Regions from separate parts of the Homo sapiens genome. Here region 2 is linked to region 1. The links are contacts of gene promoters, found by promoter capture Hi-C in human tissues and cell types (Jung and others, 2019). All regions are on one chromosome and are shown on one strand. The core of a region is centred on a gene start or on the middle of the fragment in contact, and the rest is flanking DNA. Distances in the headings are between cores, read along the strand shown. Region 1 holds the start of CXXC4 (CXXC finger protein 4). Region 2 overlaps CXXC4-AS1 (CXXC4 antisense RNA 1).

Evidence for each region. Contacts are between HindIII fragments. The study calls those that stand out against the background at their distance.
Region 2: a fragment that was not itself captured here is called in contact with the fragment with the promoter of CXXC4 in region 1 in 2 of the 25 tissues and cell types used here (heart left ventricle and heart right ventricle).

Annotation. Positions count from the first base shown.
Region 1 is chr4:104,489,421-104,496,444 of GRCh38, reverse strand. It overlaps CXXC4 (CXXC finger protein 4), which reads left to right and starts at 1,551. Exons shown (of 3, transcript NM_025212.4): 1 at 1,551-1,744; 2 at 4,386-5,701. The coding sequence starts at 4,643. CXXC4-AS1 (CXXC4 antisense RNA 1) reads right to left here and starts at 5,480. Exons shown (of 10, transcript NR_125926.1): 1 at 5,385-5,480. RefSeq lists an enhancer at 4,064-4,113. The HindIII fragment of the contact is 3,942 bases long and covers 1-2,634 here.
Region 2 is chr4:104,610,332-104,617,042 of GRCh38, reverse strand. All of the region lies in intron 1 of CXXC4-AS1 (CXXC4 antisense RNA 1), which reads right to left. The region is part of intron 1 of LOC124900745 (a long non-coding RNA gene); the gene reads left to right. Among named protein-coding and RNA genes, the nearest start is that of CXXC4, 120 kb to the right of the region's middle. The HindIII fragment of the contact is 4,146 bases long and covers 1-3,624 here.

The sequences.
Region 1 (7,024 bases), core at 302-2,801:
AAATAACACCTTCATTTAGGCATACACACACCACAGTTTCAAACTTGTTATCAACAATTTATCCTCCATAGTTGGTAATGTCTTGATATGGTCAAAGTCTATCTTTTGAAAATTCAAATACAAAATGGTTTAAAATGTCTTTTCAGCTTTTTTTTCTTATTAAAGAAACAAAACATTATATTTTCCTCACTTATCTGAACAATTAATATTGCATTACTCTAGAATAAACACTTAATTTTAATACAAAACTTGTACTCTGCTTGATAACACCAATTTAAATAATCTTAAGTTTTTTCTTTCCTACTCTATAACTTACCTTAGCCACTGTTTTGCTCTTAGAAAAAAAATTATTCAAAAGTATTCATAATTCTGTATCTTATAACTATTTCCACTAGAGTATACTTTAATAGTAGGATAGCATGTGTCCACAAATATTTTATTTGAGGCAGCAGTGAAGAGGTTAATTTACAGCTGCATTTATGAACGAGTTTTATTTATATTTGACGTGCCGTACAATATTTATGTTTCAATTCATAAACTATGTTTTCCCAAGTGGCAAGAAGTGAAATGTTAATTACATACTATTCTAAAATAGACTGAAAGACAAAAGTTTTTGTTTAAGTAAAGTTTGAAATTAAAAAATAGGGCAGTGAGTTAAAAATCTGATTTATTCTTTGGAACTACCAGATGGAATAGTAAAAGAGGATTTTGGGAGGAGAGAGAGAAGAGTAGAGAAGAGAGACAGAGATTGAGATGGATTTTGAAATTGGCCAAGCATCATATCACCGATTTTTTACATTCTGGCATAATAGTACTTCGAGGGTCTGAAGAACCACACCGGTCCGTTTTCCCTTACTTTAAAGATCTAAATGGTATTTTTTTTTAAAGTCTTCCTGGGTACACCAGGAAATTTATTTAAAACCATGCCATTGGGTACGAACTAAGAGCATTCTTCAAACAAACATGACCTTTTCTCTGTTTCTTGTATTGCTCTTCTCAACCCAGCCAGAAATCCCAGACAAGTTTATTTACACACACACCCGCACACGCACGCACACACACACCCCACACGCAGAGTGGCGGAAACGCCCTCTTTCCAACCCTTCCAAACAATTATCTCCGAGAGCAAAAGAAAATAATCAACAGCCCTGTGTGCTGGGCTGAGCCGGAGAGCCGGGCGCGAGGAGGGAGGGCGATCCGCAGGCGAGCAGGGAAAACGTGGCTCCTCTGCCGAGGAGAGGATTTGTGAAAAGGAGCGCTGGCCCGCGTGCGCCTCTTGTTCCCCGTGTAATTTGCAGCCAATCATCAGTAGGTGTCCACGTCCCTGCGTCCTCCTCACCTCGGCGCCAATCACCCCCACCCCCGCGCCCCCGCCCCCAGCCTCCACACCTCCTCCCTCGCCTTTCTCTGTGGCTCCCCTCCCCCAGCAACCGCACACTCGCACACACACAAACAGAGAGAGAAGGGGGGAGGGTGAGAGAGAGGGGAAGAGAGAGAGAGAGAGAGAGGGGAGAGAGAGAGGAGAGACTCCCCGGCTCCCTCCCTCCCTCGCACACAGCGACTGGAGACGGACGGAGAGCAACGCGCTGGGAGAGGAGAGACCACCGACAACAGACCCGCGCTCTCACACATACACTCACACTCGACTCTTTCCTCTCCCCCCACCTCCTCCTCCTTCCACCCCCACCACTAACACCATCTCCTCCTCCTTCTCTCTGCAACAAGAAAAAAAAGCCATTTACAGGTATTTTTTTTGATCCGCATATTTATTTACCCCCCCCCCCCCAACAGTTTGTTTACAAGTATTAAAGTTGTAATTGGGAGCTGCCAAGACACATCTGGATTTGTGTTTCTTTGTGTTAGGGGGTGATGTGCAACTAATTAAAGGCAGACTGGCAGCGTCTGCAAATTCTAAGGCTCCCCAAATAAAAAGAGACTGGTAAGTGATTGTTCTTTCTCTTTCTCTGGCTTTTTTTTCTCTTAAATGTTTGCTGTCCGTTGGGATTGTGAAAGTAGATTATTAATGCTGGACTCCAGCAAGAAAAAGCGTCGCTGTATTAATTTATTAATTAGTCTGCACCCGCCCCTCCTCCTGAATGTTAAATATGACCTTTGATCTCTATGTCTCTGGTAGACCAGACATACAGTATTAGGCATGTAAAGTCACATTGTTTAAAGGCAAAACAGGATCATGAAGTATGGATCTCTAATTTAGCTTTGGCATAGAACTATAGTTATTTGTGTGTGTTTTATTTTGTTTTTAAATAAAATCCAAACAATAGCTGTGGCTTAGATACCTTTTTCATGCTCCAGAGATGCATTGATTAAACAATAATGACCTGGATACTGGGCATAATCATTTTCTACAGTTTCTGGTGGTATTAAACCTTGAGGTAGGAAGAGGGATGGTGATGGCAATCAGAAAAGCAAGGAAAGCTTGTGTTTGGAAACACCACTCTAAGACTCTAAAAAAGGGACGTTAAATTATTTATTTATTTGGAACAAGGTCAAAAGACTAAAAGGTTGAAAATTTTCCCTCCACTCAATGTGATGATATCTAATGCATGGTTGACATAACTAGTTTTTACTGAGTAGCAGTTATTATGGTCTTGCAGTTACAATGTGATTCGCAGAAACTGAAGCTATATGCATATTCTTGCTGTGTCTTCCCTCACCCCTTCCAAGCATCAAGAATATTTAGCCAAGAGCATTTTGGGGGCACCTTTTGTATTGCCCTCAGACCTGAGAAGGCAGCAGTTTTCCCTAATGCGAAACCACAGAGGTGGTTCCTGAGTGATTAGGGACTTGCTGTGATTGAAAGATGCCTGCAAGCTTCTAATCCAGCCTGGGGTGAGGTTCCTTATCTTGATTTACTTTGCCTAATAGGGATTTGTTTACATAAACCCCTCTTTTTAGAGCACCTCATCAGTAGGTCTTGAAGTTTTTGCACTTGGAGTTTGGGCATAACTGGTTCATTAACCTAATTATAAGCATAATTACTATAATTGATAACCATTTTGAACTCTGAATATTTGAGACGGAGACTATTGGGCCCCCATGTAGAATTCCCTGAACTCTGCATTCTAGACCAATCTATGGGCTTCAAAAGATGTCACAAAAAGATATTCTGGCCAAAAAATCTGGAAACAAAGAAACTGGTTTTTTAAGTGAATATACACTTTATGCCTTTGCTTTGCTTCTTAAAAGGCTGTGATGTACTTCTCCCTCTGTAATAAACAACTAAAATACCTCTTCCTAAAGCATAATAATGGCCTGTAAGCAAGGAGATTAATGCAAATACCCAGTTAACATTAAACTTTCCTCTTAAAAAGAGCAAAATTAAAAAATAATTTTGTTATTTTTCTCTGGCAAAGAACACGTTAAAGCCCCCCCCCCTTTTACTCAATGTAAAAATCAGTGATTGTGAGATATCCTTTTCAAAAAGTCCCATGCTTTCCTCTTGTCTTCGGAAGAGACAGCAATCTCCATTAGGAATGATTAGGAATATTCTTATAGAGGCTGCAGGCACTTGGTTTAAAACCTGAGACATTGCTGATATAAATAAATATGTATATATGTAATTATCTGGCTTATCTTTATTTTCTACCTTAAAAAAAATCAAGTAGAACACCACCCTCTTACCCCCACCAAGACCCACCACCAAATGGCTTGTACAATTGAGACCTGTCCTTGGTCCATTGAATTAAGACCCTAACAGAGCCAGCTGTGCTGGGATTCAAACTAATGACCGCAGACACAGAAGGATACTGTGGCAGCTGGTAGTTCTTTTTTCCCTGCCTCTTTAGTTCAGATTGTATGTGGGCAGTCTCTTAGCTCTCAGTTGTATTGTGTTTGCTTACAGTTTATACTCGGATGTATTGTAGACTTTTTCAGTACTTCATTTGCTAATTTCCTGTTCATTTTCCTCATAGGGCCATTGCTGTTTTCTACTTTACAGCATTTGCATGCCCAGGCAGCACTTGTTCACACATTTCATAATGTTTAAATGCCCTCTGCTTATAGGTAGTATCGCCCTCCCACCCATGATTTGCATGTCTTTAGCACTCCAATTGCCCTTTTCCTTAGGCGTTTGTCACCCCCGTCTTCCTTCTTTCCCTGGGTATCCTGGCTATTAATACATTTTCTCAGGAGGGTTATAAGAATAGGGGGGAGGAGCTGTGGTTTGCTGTGGGGAGGGAGGGAGCGGGGGTTGGGAGAGTTGGGGGGGATGGGCTGGGGGGGGTCACGTCTTGATGATTCTTATGCAAACGACCTGATGGAAGAATGTGGGAGCTTTCGGTGTCTGCGGTGGGTTAGTGAGGGAGGTTGTTTATTTTTAATCTTTTTCCTCGTGCAGCTCGTTGGAATGACTTTCTTTATTTTAGTTGTAACAGTTGGAGGATAATGCAAAGGAAGACGCTGCCTGGGAATTCACCGTCTGTGGAAATGAGCCCCAGAGAGGAATAAAGCAGCCCTCACCTTGCTCTCCCCACCCGAACCCACTTTCCCCACCCGCCTCGGCCCCCACCCCAACACCACCATCACTCCCTTCCCTCCCCCCCACCTTTCCCCCTTTTCCACCCAGGTGTCGGACCAGGCGGTCCCCACTTCCACCCTGCACCCCTTCTTCCCCCCCTGCACCATGAACACCAATGTCTGCGTGGAGCCCGGGCCGAGCCCGGAGGCCCCGGGCTTGCCCAAGGAAAGCCACTTGCCCGAGGGGGCTCTGAACAGCCTTGTGGATTACAACTCGGAAATGGAGCGCTACCGCTCCTTTGCCACCTCCTTCTACAAGACCAACGGGGGCGCCTTCCCACAGGCGGCCAAGATCGCGCGCATCACCACCCCCATCTTCCCCAGCAGCGCCGCCGCCGCCGCGGCCGCCGCGCGCATCGGCATGTCCCCCTGGAACTGCGACAACGCGGCCACCGCCGCCGCCGCCACCGCCATGCTCTGGGGCAGCGGCGGGGGCGGGGGCGGCGGCGGGGGGGGTGGCGGCGGCGGCGGCGGCGGCGGAGGCGGGGGCGGGGGTGGTGGGGGCGGCAGGAAATCCTCCTCCGCCGCCGCCTCCTCCTCCGCCTCCTCCTCCTCGGCGATCCTCCCCGCCGGCGGTGGCGGCGGCGGCGGCGGCGGCGGCAGCAGGACCAGCATGCACCACCGAAACGACTCCCAGAGGCTGGGGAAAGCTGGCTGCCCGCCAGAGCCGTCGTTGCAAATGGCAAATACTAATTTCCTCTCCACCTTATCCCCTGAACACTGCAGACCTTTGGCGGGGGAATGCATGAACAAGCTCAAATGCGGCGCTGCTGAAGCAGAGATAATGAATCTCCCCGAGCGCGTGGGGACTTTTTCCGCTATCCCGGCTTTAGGGGGCATCTCATTACCTCCAGGGGTCATCGTCATGACAGCCCTTCACTCCCCCGCAGCAGCCTCAGCAGCCGTCACAGACAGTGCGTTTCAAATTGCCAATCTGGCAGACTGCCCGCAGAATCATTCCTCCTCCTCCTCGTCCTCCTCAGGGGGAGCTGGCGGAGCCAACCCAGCCAAGAAGAAGAGGAAAAGGTGTGGGGTCTGCGTGCCCTGCAAGAGGCTCATCAACTGTGGCGTCTGCAGCAGTTGCAGGAACCGCAAAACGGGACACCAGATCTGCAAATTTAGAAAATGTGAAGAGCTAAAGAAAAAACCTGGCACTTCACTAGAGGTCAGAGGAGATGATTTCTTGTTTCCCAGTCTCCCCCCTTCCCTCCTCACTCCCTCTCCCCTTCAGGGATTCTTGTCTGGCTTCAAGATGCAGTACCCCTTCTCAGAAGCTTCATTCAGGTGGTAAGAGTTGTAGGTGGTTTGCGAAAGGCTTGGCCTCTCCACCACCCGCACCAGCTGCACTTCACGTGACACCGCCCTTCTGATAGAGAGAGTGCCCTCCTTTTTATCCCTGGGGGAAAAATAATGTAATTGAAGAATCAGAAGTTTCACATTCAATATGCTCAATATTTTCCCTTGGTGGTTTAAAATGCCCCCTCCTCCTCATTAAAAAGGGTGGGGCATCTTGCCCAAAGGACTGGACACATCACATCCTATACAAGTTTACTGGCTAAGTTAGTGGCCCATTTATAACAGTGAGGACACAGTTTGTGGTACACAAGCCTGTTCTCATTAAAAAACCGGTAACAAACCACACAGCAGTATTCAATGAAGTTGAAACACCTGGATTCAGAAGGGGATTTCCTACCCTTTTCTAGAATCATTTTTCTACTCATCAAGGCAGAATGTTTTCTATTTTATTTTCTGCGTATCTGATATTTTTGGAGAAAGCTGAAACTGTGTAGGAAGCGGATTTCTACCTGCAAATTTTGAGGAGATGTGACTTAGAATAAAGGGATACAATTAGTTAATTTCAGGGCAGATAAGAGTGATTTTGTTTAAAAATTATTTTATGTGGTTTTAGAATGAATAATTTCTAAAACTCAGTTACAAAAAAAGTATTTCCCCTGGGCTCTGCATTGGACAAAGTAACCATTTTGTGGTTACAAAGTTGGTGTATACACCAAGCACAGTTTTGGTTGATACCTTATATGGTCAATAATAGTTTCTTTTACCTATAGGTCTTTAAAACAGATATTGTACAGATGCTCACTAAAGTAATTGTTAAATTAGGTTATGAATTATGCTAAATACAGAGATTGATACCTTTGATAAAAATTTTGTATTGTGTCCTGATCAAAACAAAAATGGGGAAAAATGAAAAATCACAGGTAAATGACTTTGGTGGTATATTAAACAAAGAAATCTGGACAAGTACTTATAGTTAGTCTCGATAAAATTTACAGGGTAGATAATTAGATGTTCATATATACATGAGACTGTAGGTGGTGGGTTTAGCATTCTGTGCTTTAACATTTTAATATTCTGTGGAGTGAGTTGCAGGATGAGAGTGGCTCTCACAAGTTATCTTAGGGTTATCTGTACATTCTTTTAAAAATTGTGAGTACTGCTTAGAGGAGTTTGCTTTATGAACTGGGAAGCA
Region 2 (6,711 bases), core at 302-2,801, 120 kb before region 1:
TTCCACCTATCACCCCCCACACCACCCAGCACAGGAACAACAAATTTAACAACTATCTACACAGGAAAAGCACTTTCATTAGAACCAAAAATCAGGTGAGCACTCACAGTATCTGGCTTTAACTTCATGTTGCTGCACTGAAGATGGTAGAAAAAATAGTCTTAAACATCTAACACCTCCTAACACCCATCCCCTGGCAGCAACTGCATGGCACAGAGAGAGGATCTGTGTGCTTATGGGGAGAGAGAGTGCAGTGATTGTGAGACCTTGCATTCAACTCAGTGCTGCCCTGTCAGAGTAGAAAGCAAAACTGGCCGAACTCAGCCAATCCCTGCCCACAGACGGAGCATTTAAACCAGCCCTCGCCAGAGAGGAATTGCCAATCCTAGCAAATCCTAGCAGTCGGAACCTCAGTTTCAGCAAGCCTCACCACCATGGGCTAACGTGTGCTGGAGTACACACAAACTTGAAATGCAGTGTAGGCCACACGACTACAATTCCTAGGCAAGTCCAAAGGCTGTGCTGGGCTCAGAGCCAATGTACTTGGGGGGAATGTGACAGTGAGACACCAGCCATAGAGATTGAGGGAGTGCTTGCACCACCCCTCCCCCAACCTCAGGCAGCACAGTTCACAGCAACAAAACTGACTTTACTCTGCTTAAGGAGAGAGGAGGGAAAAATAAAGAGAAGTTTGCCACAAGAGTGGCAGTACTCCCTATGGGCCAGTAGTGATGGTAGCCATGGGGAGAAGCTCCTCTGCCTCTGGAAAAGGAAGAGAAGAGTGGCCAGATCTGTGTCATGTGGCTTGAGCACCAGCTCAGCTGCAGTAGAATAGAATATCAGGTAGATTTCTAAGTATTTTGATTCCACTCCATGGCTCCTGGACAGTATCTCTGGACCTGCCCAGGGTCTGGAGGAACTTGCCACCCTGAAGGGCAGGACAAAAACTTGGCTGGCTTTGCCACCTGCTGATTGTGAAGCCCTAGGGCCTTACGTGACCATAAACAATAGCCAGGTAGTGGTTACAGTGGGCTTTTGGTGAGACCCAGTGCTGTGCTGGCTTCAGTTCTGATCCAGCACAGCCCCAGTGGCGGTGGCCACAGGATGCTCATGTCACCCCTCCCCCAGCTCTGCATGGCTCAGCACACAGAGAGAGACTTCATTGGTTTGGGAGAAAAAGTGAGAATGAGTCTCTCTCTCTGGTAATCCACAAGATTCCTCCAGATTTTATCCAAGGCTGCCAATGTAGTACTTCTACAAGTATGCAAGAATCACAGTGTTACTGGGCTTGGGGTGTCCCTAATGCAGAAACAGCTTACATCACAACACCCAAGTCCTTTAAAATACCTGGAAGGCCTTCCCAAGGAGGACAGGTAGAAACATGCCCAGACGGCACAGACTAAAATAAATACCTAACTCTTCAATTCCCAGACATTGATGAACAATCATAAGCATCAACACCATTCAGGAAACTGTCACCTACCAAACAAATTAAATAAGGCACAAGGGACCAATTCTGGAGAAAGAGAAATATGTGATCTTTCAGACAGACAATCCAAAATAGCTGTTTTGAGGAAACTTAAAGAAATTCAACATAATACAGACAAGGAAATCAGAATTCTATCAAAGAAATTTAATAAAGAGATGATTGAAATAATTAAAAAGAATCAAGCAAAAATTCTGGAGCTGAAATATGCAAGTGACATACTAAAGAATGCATTGGAGTCTCTTAGTGGCAGAACTGATCAAGCAGAAGAAAGAATTTCTGAGTTTGAAGACAGGCTATTTGAAAATACACACTCAGAGGAGATAAAATGAAAAATAATAAAAAACAATGAAGCACACTTACAAGATCTGGAATATAGCCTCAAAAGGGCAAATCTAAGAGTTATTGGCCTTAAAGAAGAAAGTAGAGAAATGGATAGGGGTATAAAGTTTATTCGAAAAGATAATATCACGGAACTTCCCAAACCTAGAGAAAATTTCAAAATTCAAATATAAGAATGTTACAGAACACCAAACAGATTTAACATAAAGAAGATCACCACAAGGCATTTAATAATCAAACTCCCAAAGATAAACCATTAAAGGATTATAAAAGCAGCAAGAAAAAAGAAACAAATAACACAATGGAGCTCCAATGTGTCTGGTAGCAGACTATTCAATGGAAACCTTACAGGCCAGGAAAGAGGGGTGTGACATACTTAAAGTGCTGAAAGAAAAAATCTTTTATCCTAGAATAATATATCTGGTGAAAATATCCTTCAAACATTAAGGAGAAATGAAGAATTTCCCAGACAAACAAAAGCTGAGGAATTTCACTCACACTAGATGTGTCCTGCAAGAAATGCTAAAGGGAGTACTTCAATCAGAAAAAAAGAAATCATTTGAAGGTACAAAACTCACTGGTAATAAATAGCAAGTACACAGAAAAACACAGACTATTATAATACTCTGCGGTAGATAAACTACTCATATCTTAAGTAGAAAGACTAAAAGATGAACCACTCAAAAATAAGAACTATGCCAACTTTTCAAGACATAGACAATACGATAAGATAAATACAAACAAAAAGTTAAAAAGTAGGGGGCAAAGTTGAAGTGTAGAATTTTTATTAGTTTTCTTTTTGCTTGTTAGTTTGTTTATGCAAGCAGTTTAAATTTGTTATGAGCTTAAAATAATGAGTTATATTTGCAAGCCTCATTGTAATCTCAAATCAAAAACATACGACCAATAAACAAAAAAGAAAAACCAAGAAATTAAATCATACCACCAGAGAAAATCATCTTCACAAAAAGGACAAAGAGAAGGATGGGAAGAAGGAAGAGAAGGCCACAAAGCCAGAAAACAAATAGCAAAATGGCAGAAGTAAGTTCATATTAATCAATAATAACATTGAATGTAAATGAACTAAAATTCTCAGTAAAAAGACATAGAGCGGCTGATTGAATAAAAAGCAAGACTCAGTGATCTGTTGGCTACAAGATACATGCTTCACCAATGAAGACACACATGGACTTAAAATAAAGGGATGGAAAAGGATATTCCATGCCAATGGAAACCAAAAAAGAAGAGAAAAAATAGATTTCAAGACAAAAACTATAAGAAGAGACAAAAAGGTCATTATATAACGATAAAGGGTGAATTGAGCAAGGAGATGAAACACTTGTAAATATATATGCACCCAACCCTGGAGCACCCAGATACATAAATCAAATATTATTAGTGCCAAAGAGAGAAATAGATAACATTACAATGATAACTGGAGATTTCAACACCCCATTTTCAGCACTGGAGAGGTCTTCTAGACAGAAAATCAATTAAAAAATTGTACTTTATCTGCACTGTAGATAGACCTAATTGACCTAATAGATATTTACCAAAGATTTCATCTAACAGCTGCAGAATACAAATTCTTTTTCTCAGCACATGTATTATTCTCAAGGACAGACCATATTTTAGGTCACAAAACAAGCTTAAAACATTTTTTTAAAAACCCTGAAATAATATCAAGCATCTTCTCTGACTACAATAGAATAAAACTAGAAATCAAGAACAAGAGGAATTTTGGAAACCATACAAACACATGAAAATTAAGCAATATGCTCCTGAATGACCAGTGGTCAATGAAGAAATTAAGAAGGAAATTGAAATATTTACTGAAACAAATGATAATGAAGAAACAATATGCCAAAACTTATGAGTCACAGCAAAACAGTACTAACAGGGAACTTTATAGCTATAAGTGCCTACATCAAAAATGAAGAAAAGCTTCAAATAAATAACCTAATAATACATCTTAAAAAACTAGAAAAATAGGAGCAAACCAAATCCAAAATTAGTAGAAGAAAAAAAAAGATCAGAGCAGAAATAAATGAAATTGAAATGAAGAAAACAATGCAAAAGATCAATGAAACAAAAAGTTGGTTTTTTGGAAAACATAAACAAAGTGACAAACCTTTAGCCAGACTAATGAAAAAAGAGAGAGGACCCAAATAAATAAAATCAGAGGTAAAAAAGGAGACATTAAAACTGATACCACAGAAATTCAAAGGATCATTACTGGCTACTATGAACAACTATATGCCAATAAATTTGAAAATCTAGAGAAAATGGATAAATTCCTAGACACAAGCAACCTACCAAGATTGAATTGTGAAGAAATTCATAACCCAGACACACTAATAACAAGTAACCAGATCAAAGTCATAATAAAAAGTCTCCCAGCAAGGAAAAGCCCAGGACCCGATGGCTTCATTGCCAATTTCTACCAAACATATAGGAAGAACTAGTACCAGTCCTACTCAAACTATTCCAGAGAATAGAGGAGGAGGGAGTACTTCCAAACTTTTTCTATAAGGCCAATATTAGCCAGATACCAAAACCAGAAAAAGACACATCAAATAAAGAAAGCTACAGGCCAATATCCCTAATGAATATTAATATAGAAATCCTCAACAAAATACTAGCAAACCAAGTTCAACAACACATTAAAAATTTTATTCACCATGACCAAGTGGGATTTATCCCAGGAGTGCAAGAAGGTTCAACATAAACAAACCCATCAATGTGATACACCATAGCAACAGAATGAAAGACACAAACTATATAATCATTTTTCTTGAAGCTTAAAAGCATTTGATAAAATTCAACATCCCTTCATGATGAACCCCTGAAAAAACTTGGTATAGAAAGAATCTACTTCAACATAATAAAAGCCATATGGGCCGGGCACAGTGGCTCACACCTGTAATCCCAGCACTTTGGGAGGCCAAGGCGGGTGGATCACGAGGTCAGGAGATCGAGACCATCCTGGCTAACATGGTGAAACCCCATCTCTACTAAAAAATACAAAAAATTAGCTGGGTTTGGTGGCACGCAGCTGTGTTCCTGGCTGCTCAGGAGGCTGAGGCAGGGTAATGGCGTGAACCTGGGAGGCGGAGCTTGCAGTGAGCCGAGATTGTGCCACTGCACTCCAGCCTGGGTGACAGAGCAAGACTCCATCTCAAAAAAATAAAATAAAATAAAATAAATAAAAGCCATATATTACAGGCCCACAGGTAGAATCATACTGAATTGGGGGCAGGGTGCGGGGAGCAGCAGAAAGACTTTCCTCTAAGATCAGGAACATGACAAGGATGCTGCTCTTACCACTGTTATTCAACATAGTACTTGAAGTCCTAGCTACAGTAATCAGACAAGAAAATAAAATAAAATCATCCAAACTAGAAAGAAAGCTGTCAAATTATCCTTGTTTACAGATGATATGATTTCATATTTGGAAAAACCTAGACTCCACAATAAAACTATTAAAAATGATAAACAAATTTAGTAAAGTTGCTGGATACAAAAATCAACATATAAAAATCACTAACACTTCTATATGTCAACACTGAACAATCTGAAAAAGAATTTAAGAGACTAATCCCATTTACAATAGCTACAAATAAAATAATATACCTAGGAATAAACTTAACTAAAAAAGTTAAAGATTCCAGCAATGAAAACTATAAAACATTGAAGTATGAAATTGAAGGGGACACCAAAAAATGAAAAAGATATTCCATGTTCATGGATTGGAAGAATCAATATTGTTAAAATGTCCATACTATCCAAAGCAATCTACAAATTCAGTACAATCCCTATAAAAATACAGATGCTATTGTTCACAGAAATAGAAAAAAAAATCAATCTCAAAATGTATAAGGAACCACAAAGCACCCAGAATAGCTAAAGCTATGCTAAGCAAAAAGAACAAAGTTGAAATAATCACATTACCTGACTTCAAATTATACTATAGAGCTATAGTAACCAAAACGGCATAGTACTGACCTAAAAACAGACACACAGGTCAACAGAATAGAATAGAGATTCCAGAAAAAAAAAATCCAAATGTCTACAATGAACTCATTTTGACAAAGGTGCCAAACCATACATTGGAGAAAGGACAGTATCTTCAATAAATGGTGCTGGGAAAACTGGATATTCATATGCAGAAGAATGAAACTAGAACCCTATCTCTTGCCATACACAAAAATCAAACTAAAATGAATGAAAGACTTAAATTTAAGACCTTAAACTATGAAACTATTACAAAAATACATTGGTGAAACTCTCCAGGATATTGAACTAGGCAAAGATTTCTTGAGTAATACCCGACAAGCACAGACAACTAAAGAAAAGTGGACAAATGGGATCATATCGAGTTAAAAAGTTTTTGCACAGCAAAGGAATCAACAAAGTGAAGAGTGAATCCACATAATGGGAGAAAATATTTGCAAACTACCCATATGATAAGGGACTAATAACCATAATATATAAGGAGCTCAAACAACTCTATAGGAAAAAATATAATAACCTGATTTTAAAATGGACAAAAGATCTTAATAGACATTTCTTAAATAAAGGCATACAAATGACAAACAGATATATGAAAAGATGCTCAGCATCATTTAATATCAGAAAAATGCAAATCAAAACTACAATGATATTTGTTTAAATGGTTTTTACCCAAAAGACAGGCAATAACAAATGCTGGCATGGATGGGGAGAAAAGATAACACTTGCACACTATTGGTGGAAATGTAAATTATTACAACCACTATGGAGAACAGTCTGGATATTCCTCAAATAACTAAAAATAGAGCTACCATAAATCCAGCAATCCAACTACTAGGTATACATGCAAAGGAACAGAAATCAATATATCA